2 separate regions of the Homo sapiens genome follow, and region 2 is linked to region 1. Evidence: promoter capture Hi-C in 16 types of primary human blood cells and fetal thymus (Javierre and others, 2016). All regions are on one chromosome and are shown on one strand. The core of a region is centred on a gene start or on the middle of the fragment in contact, and the rest is flanking DNA. Distances in the headings are between cores, read along the strand shown. Region 1 holds the start of CABP5 (calcium binding protein 5). Region 2 has its middle 7.1 kb from the start of SNAR-C1.

Region 1 (4,118 bases), core at 356-2,855:
TTTAGCCTTCCCATCTCCCTTTATCCCTGGAGCCTTTCCCTCAGCTTCTCTTTCATCTGATCCCCTCCTTGCGGTCCCTTATCACCCTTTTTTTCATTCTCTCTCTCTTTTTTTTTTTTGAGACACAGTCTCGCTCTGTCACCCAAGCTGGAGTGCAGTGGCACGAACTCGGCTCACTGCAACCTCTGCCTCCCGGGTTCAAGCGATTCTCCTGCCTCAGCCTCCCGAGTAGCTGGGATTACAGGCGCCTGCCACTGCACCCGGCTAATTTTTGTATTTCTAATAGAGACAGGGTTTCACCATCTTGGCCAGGCTGGTCTTGACCTCCTGACCTCGTGATCCACCTGCTTTGGCCTCCCAAAGGGCTGGGATCACAGGCGTGAGCCACTGCCTGGCCTTTTTTATTCTCTTTTTTTGGTGATCTTAAAGCCTAACAATGAAAAGTATGCCCACATATCTGGACAAGTTGGTATATATGGAAAAATAAAAAAATTTTAAAAAGCATGCCCACAGGAATCAAGCAAACCCGACCCTGCCACTTACTTTTTTTTAACGAGACAAAGTCTCACTTTGTTGCCCAGGCTGGAGTGCAGTGGCATAATCAGGGCTCACTGCAGCCTCCACTTCCTGGGCTCAAGCGATCCTCCTGCCTCAGCCACCTGAGTAGCTGGGACTGCAGATGCATGCCACCATGCTGAGCTATTTTTTTGTATTTTTAGTAGAGATGGGGTCTTGTGTTTCCCAGGCTGGTCTCAAACTCCTGGACATAAGTGATCCTCCCGCCTCTGCCTCCCAAGATGCTGCGATTCAGGCATGAGCCACTATACTTGGCCGACCCTGCCACTTACTAACTGTGTAAGCTTAAGGCAAATGACTTCATGACTCAGAGCTTCACTTTCCTCACCTGTAAAATGGGAATGAAAGTCACTGACCTCATGAGTTGTTCTGAGGTGTAAATAACATCAGGTGTGCAAATCCCTTTGCACAGGGCTGGGCACAGAACAATGACTTAATAAGTGGCAGCTATTGTTATTAACGTCATCATTATCATCACCACCACCACCATCATCACCACCATTATCACAATGAGCATCCATAGAAAAGAATGATGGTAATCTCAACAATGACATCATCCCACTTTCCCTTTTCATTTTTCTTCCTTTTCTCTCCTTCTCTTTGCTCCTGACTTTTGATTTTACCCCCACCCATTTATCTCACTGGCTTACATGACCCCACCAGGGTCCTTGGAATTTCTTATACCTTCTCAGCTCCTGCTCTATCCACCTGTTCCCCTGGTTCTGTGGCACCATCATGTCCCCTTCTTTGTCCCACACCCCTGCTCCCTTTGCCCCGCCCACCGCCCTTCCCCCTCACTCCCCACCTCACCCGCTGTTTCTCAGCAATGCCTTTCCTCAAGAAGATGCAGGCGGGGCCCATGGGGAACTGCATGGAGGGGTGGGGTGGAGCTCGCAGGGCACCAGTCTCAAGATGGCCCCTCCTCCCTGCTCCCTGTCGGAGCTCAGCCTCCTTATCTTCTCCAGCACTCCTTTGCCACCTCTTCCTGCCTCTCTTGGCTTCTCCTTCGGTCCCGGTGTCTTAGAGCTGTGACAGCTGGGCTGGAAATCTCTACCCGGGTTGGGGAGGGACCAGAGCTGTCCCTGCCTCCCCATCTGGCTTGAATGATATGGGTGGGGAAATGCAGAGTCAGGTTCTGTGACGCCTTTATCCCCAGAGTGGAATTGGAAAGTGCATTTTATAAATGGGGATTAGAGGCTGGATGTGGTGCTCATGTCTGTAGTCCCAGCGCTTTGGGAGGCTGAGGTGGGAGGATTGCTTGAGCCCAGGAGTTTGAGACCAGCTGAGCAACATACGGAGAGGCTGTCTTTACAAAAAATAAAAAAATTAGCCGTGCATGGTGGCACACACCTGTAGTCCCAGCTGCTCCAAAGGCAGAGATGGGAGGATTGCTTGAGCCCAGGAGTTCAAGGCTGCAGTGAGCTATGATTGTACCATTGCACTCCAGGCTGCAGTGAACTACGATTGCACCATTGTACTCCAGCCTGGCTGACATAGTGAGACCCTGTCTCGAAAAAAAGAAAAAAAAAGAAAAAAAAGAAAAGAAAATGGAGGATTAGAGCAGACGGCATCATTTATTCAATGTTCCAACAAGCATGTGAAGGGTCACTCCAACACTGGCCTCTGGGCAGTGAGATGGAGAGCTCAGCACCCCTGGCCTCAGGGAGTTTTCCTGGGTGAGTCGGGAATGTGTGAGAGTGAGCAGGATGCAAGCATGGACTTCAGGAAGTGGGCGTACACGGTGACTAAGAGCATGGCATTTGCTCTTCCTCTGTTCATCTCTTTCCTTCTGTCTTTCCTGAATGATTTAGAGGGAAAAAGCAAGGTGGGGGTGTCAGGGAGGGTGTGAAGTTATGGTGGTGTCAAAGCCCAAAGGGGTTTTGCGACTCCACACTAGGTAGGGTTAGGGGAGGAGGGGGCTGGGGGCCATCTGGCGTGGAGAGCCAGCATTCCAGTGGGGTAGTGGGGTGAGGAGAAGTCCACATAGAGGGGCAGCATGACCCAGGGTGTTGGGGCTGGAGATGGTGGGGATAAATCCACAGATGGGCAGCTTGGTGTGCAGTGTTGGAACATGAGCTGAGTGGGGCGGGGGCATTTATATGCAGGCATTGTCTGGGGTGGAGGTTTGCACTGTAAGGCAATTAGGAAGGAGGCCACATAGAGGGGATCTGGCATGGGTTGTCATAACCCAAGCAGAGAGAGAAATGTCCACTCATGGGAATAGCATGGTGTATGGTGTTGAAGCCAGACTAGGCTGGGAAAGACATCCCCACAGGGGTGAAATGGCAAAGGAAAAGGGAAATTGGCTACACACAGTGAGTAAGGGGAATGGGGGCCAGGTCTCCTACTGTTGGAAAAGGGAGTTACTAAGACAGAAAGGAGGAAAGTCGAATGAGCCCTGTGGTGTTGGACTATAACTGGAGGCGTTGGTATGTCCTCATGGATCTCAATTATACATAGAGAGATAAAAATAAACACATAGTTTCAGTGTGTATAGGAACATTTGTACACATATTCTCTAGCTCTCTCCACTAAGAGAACATAGAAACAATGATGGCCCATATGAATGAGCACCACTAGCATCCAAATCTTGACTTCTATATACCATTCTCCACCAAATGGAACCAGAGTGCCTAGGAAATTTGGCTGATTCCATGTCTAGAGCAAAAAAAGAACAAGATGAGCCTACAAACGTCCTATGCTTAAAGCAAGAAATTGCTCAAAGTGTTGTGAGAACATGTGGAAAGAACACAGGAGTCTGCTTGAAGAAGCTCCATTGGCCATACTGGGCAGTTTGAGAGTCAAAATAAATAATGATAGTAACAAATTATACAGGACCACAGAAGAAACCAGGAGTCCATACTCAGATAAATAAAAAGCTAAGTGAGAAGTTTGATATTTACAGAGCTCAAAATACCTCCCTACAAAATACCAATTTCAAAGGAGTTACGTTATAGTGGAGAAACGTGGCAAACACCATCTTAGTCAATGAAAGTGGACATCATCAGTAATGTGACAAGTTGGAATTTCACACCACCTGACAGGATGTCACGAGAACAGCATCGCTTCTGTAAGATTCCTGAATCTCATCATAATCAGACGTCAGACGAACCCACATGGAGGGATGGTTTACAAAATAACTGGCCTGTAAGCTTCAAAAATGTCAAGGTCATGAAAATCAAGGAAAGATTGAGGAACCGTTCGAGATTGGAGGAGACTAAGAAGACATGGCCGAGGCTGGGCGCGATGGCTCACACCTGTAATCCCAGCAATTTGGGAGGCTGAGGTGGGCAGATCACCTGAGGTCAGGAGTTCGAGACCAGCCTAACCAACGTGGAGAAACCCCGTCTCTACTAAAAATACAAAAAAATTAGCCCGGCATGGTGGCACATGCCTGTAATCCCTGCTACTCGGGAGGCTGAGGCAGCAGAATCGCTTAAACCCAGGAGGCGGAGGTTGCAGTGAGCCCAAGATCGTGCCATTGCACTCCAGCCTGGGCAACAAGAGCAAAACTCTGTCCAAAAAAAAAAAAAAAAAAAAAA
Region 2 (4,045 bases), core at 969-3,468, 81 kb before region 1:
GGTCAGGAGTTCAAAATCAGTCTAGCCAACACGGTGAAACCCTGTCTCTACCAAAAATACAAAAATTAGCCAGGCATGGTGGCACATGCTTGTAGTCCCAGCTACTTGGGAGGCTGAGGCAGGATAATTGCTTGAATCCAGGAGACAGAGGTTGCAGTGAGCTGAGATGGCGCCACTGCACTCCAGCCTGGGTGACAGAGTAAGACTTTGTCTAAAACAAACAAAAAAATGAATAGGCAAAACAATCTTGAAAAATAAGAACAAAGTTGGAGGCTTCACATTTCCTAATTTCAAAACTTAATACAAAACCACAGTAATTAAAACAGTGCGGCGCTGGCATAAAGACAGCCACATAGACCAATGGAATAGAATACATTGAAATTTTCTAAAGGACAATTTTTTCAATTTCCAACTTTTATGTGGTTTAACATTCGTAAGCAAGTTTGTGTTCTTTGAATCACTGAGAGCTTTTGAGCATGTAGCAATATCCTGCACAAATTTTGCATGAGTGTGTTAAAGACGGGTAAGTATTAAATGTCTCATGCAGCCGGATGCAGTGACTCACACCTATAACCCCAGCACTTTGGGAGGCCAAGGCAGGTGGATGAGTTGAGGTCAGGAGTTCGAGACCAGCCTGGCCAACATGGTGAAACCCCGTCTCTGTTAAGAATACAAAAATTAGCTGGATGTGGTGGTGGGGGCCTGTAATCCCAGGTACTTGGGAGTCTGAGGCAGGGGAATCACTTGAATCCGGGAGGCAGAGGTTGCAGTGAGCCGAGATTGCACCACCGCACTCCAGCTTGGGTGACAGAGCAAGACTCCGACTCAAAAAAAAAAAAAAAAGGTCTCATGGAGGAAGTCAGTTCTGTAGAATGACCCCACTGCAAGATGCTCTTCCAGTGCCAGGAAGTGGATTATGTTCTAGGAGCCATGAAGGAGAGTTTACAGAAGCCCATTCTCCGCTTCATCATCATTGTAACACAATGAAAGCTGATGACATGGCTGCTTGGCTACACTGTGTTTATCAGCTTCTCCTGCATTTAGAATGGGGGCATGTAACTACACACTCTAAGTAGGTGCTTACCCAGGTCCAGAGTCTCCAGGAATAAGATCAATGTAGAAGAGCAGCTACAGAAGGAGTCGGTTGACTTGAATGACATAAAAATAAATCATGGTAATTGCTTAAGCCTCAGCATTTTTTTTGTACTGTCCCATTTAGATAAATGAATAGAGTTTGACAACAGTCTTTCATGTCTTTGTTGGTGCCACCAAGCTCTGAAATTCCCAAGGAACATAATGTTTCTTCACGCGCTCCATTCTCGTAGGAGGCTAACTACGATGACGTGCAATGTGACTTTTCCCTATCTTAATAGCTGGGCCCAAGGGTCTGGGAACCGATGTGAGTCATACGCCTTTCTGAAAATATTTTTTTCAAACTGTATTACTCCTGGGCCCTGCGGAAATCATTGCAGAAAGTATTTGGTATCACACTGAGCTAACAGAGAAGTGAACCTAACTCAGGACTCTGTCTCATGTTCCTATAATCTTCCACTCTAATCACTGGATATCAGTGGTATTCCTAGTCCTTGAAAACTAATCTTTGCTCAAAACCAGTATTCAGTAGGCTCTGGAAAGTTTATGTATTTACCTTTGTAATTTCTTTCTTTCTTTCTTTCTTTCTTTCTTTCTTTCTTTCTTTCTTTCTTTCTTTTTTCTTTCTTTCTTTCTTTTTTCTTTCTTTCTTTCTTTCTTTCTTTTTTTTCTGAGAGACTAGAGTTTCGCTCTAGTCTCTCACGCTGGAGTGCAATGGCGCGATCTCAGTTCACTGCAACCTCCGCCTCCCAGGCTCAAGCGATTCTCCTGCCTCAGCCTCCCGAGTAGCTGGGATTACAGGAATGCGCCACCATGCTCAGCTAATTTTTGTATTTTTAGTAGAGATGGGGTTTCACCATGTTGGCCAGGCTGGTCTCGAACTCCTGACCTCAGGGGATCCACCCCCCTCGGCCTCCCAAAGTGCTGGGATTACAGGCGTGAGCCACCGTGCCTGGTCCCTTTGCATTTTCTTACTGTGTCTGCCTATGGCCTTATAGCAGTGCCTGGTTACCCAGCCTTGCCTTCACTCAAGGGGCATTGAGTTGGTGAACTGTCTTGTGCCTGGAACTGGGAGAAAAGCCATGACTCTAGCGCGATGGTTCCAGTCTGGCTGTTATACTGTGGATCTTCTGTGCAATGAACGTCTTTTTTTTTTTTTTTTTTTTGAGACAGAGTCTTGCTCTGTCACCAGGCTGGAGTGCAGTGGTGCAATCTCAGCTCACTGAAACCGCCCCCTCCCGGGTTCAAGCAATTCCCCTGCCTCAGCCTCCCAAGTTGCTGGGGCTACAGGTGTGTGCCACCATGCCAGGCTAATTTTTTGTATTTTAGTAGAGACGGGGTTTCACCATGTTGGCCAGGATGGTCTCGATCTCATGACCTCGTGATCTGCCCGCCTCGGCCTCCCAAAGTGCTGGGATTACAGGCATGAAGCACTGCACCTGGCCACAATGAATGTCTTTAAGTGAACTGTCAGTTGAATTCATTTCTGAAAAAAACCTATGATTATCACCACCAGATGTCGCTCTTGCACCAGCCATTCTCTATGATCTGATTAGTAATTATACCCTGTTGCCTGGTATCACTTTGCTTCTTAGGGATTAATTGCCACCACCTGGGCTCAATCACACCAGGCTCTGCCTGTCTCCACTGGAACCCTGAAGCTCACTTCAAAAAGCATGGCTTTCTGCTAGCATTCCTAGAGCGGAAAAGCAAGTCAGCCATATTCTTTACAAAAGATTTCCTATGCTTTGTGAAAGATTAAGATGAGATTTATGGGTTCACAAAGACAATGTTTCCGTTTTTTTAACCATAATCTATAGAAAGAATAGACTTTAAAATATGAGCTGACTTCTATCTATCCATCATCTATATCTTTCTATTTAGGCATCCCTATCTATCTATACAATCTCTAAACCTTTTTAGAAATAACTCATGCCATACACATGAAACACTCTGTGTTTTTCCATCCACGTTTGCAGTATTTTTAATTTAAACAATGCTGGTTGTGCTTTGATAAATGGAAGATTATGACTCACCATTTGAAAAGAGCTGGCCTAAGTGTGTGTCTTTCTTTTCTTTTCTTTTCTTTTCTTTTCTTTTCTTTTCTTTTCTTTTCTTTTCTTTTCTTTTCTTTCTTTTTTTGATGGAGTCTCACTCTGTCGCCCAGGCTGGAGTGCAGTGTTGCTATCTCGGCTCGCTGCAGCCTCAGCCTCCCGGATTCAAGCGATCCTCCTGCCTCAGCCTCCTGAGTAGCTGGGATTACAGGCGCCTGCCACCACACCTGGCTAATTTTTGTATTGTTAGTAGAGATGGGGTTTCACCATGCTGGCCGGGCTGGTCTCAAACTCCTGACCTCAGGTGATCCACCCGCCTTGGCCTCCCAGTGTTGGGATTACAGGCTTGGACCACCGTGCCTGGCCCTAAGTGTTTTCTAACATAAGCATGGATAGGTTTAAGAGTGGAGGGTGGGCGTTTGTGTGTGTGTGTGTGTGTGTGTGTGTGTGTTTGTGTGTGTGTGTGTGTGTGGTCACAGGGCCTCTGGACATTGCCATCCCCCTTCACCTCTGCACCTGCCTAATTGTCATTAAACTATCGGGACCCAGCCTGGTTGTTGTCCCTTGTCCCTTCCTAGAAGTGATCCCTGATCCTGCAGGCTGAGCAAGGGTCCCGTTCTCTGGCCTCCTCTTACCCCTGGAGTCTCTGGTTTTTTTTTTTTTAAATTAGTTAATTAATTAATGTATTTTTGAGACGGAGTTTCACTCTGTCTCCCAGGCTGGAGTGCAGTGGTGCAATCTCAGCTCACTGCAACCTCCACCTCCCGGGTTCAAGTGATTCTCCTGCCTCAGCCTCCTGAGTAGCTGGGATTACAGGCAGGCACCACCACACCCAGCTAATTTTTGTATTTTTAGTAGAGACAGGGTTTCGCCATGTTGGCCAGGCTGGTCTCGAACTG

Evidence for each region. Contacts are between HindIII fragments. The CHiCAGO score rates a contact against its expected background, and 5 or more counts as called.
Region 2: a contact is called between a fragment that was not itself captured here and the fragment with the promoter of CABP5 in region 1, in 1 of 17 cell types (M2 macrophages). The highest score is 5.4, in M2 macrophages.

The regions. Positions count from the first base shown.
Region 1 is chr19:48,042,474-48,046,591 of GRCh38, forward strand. CABP5 (calcium binding protein 5) reads right to left here and starts at 1,606. Exons shown (of 6, transcript NM_019855.5): 1 at 1,387-1,606. The coding sequence starts at 1,449. The HindIII fragment of the contact is 2,868 bases long and covers 859-3,726 here.
Region 2 is chr19:47,960,735-47,964,779 of GRCh38, forward strand. No RefSeq gene overlaps it. Among named protein-coding and RNA genes, the nearest start is that of SNAR-C1, 7.1 kb to the left of the region's middle. The HindIII fragment of the contact is 5,095 bases long and covers 1-4,045 here.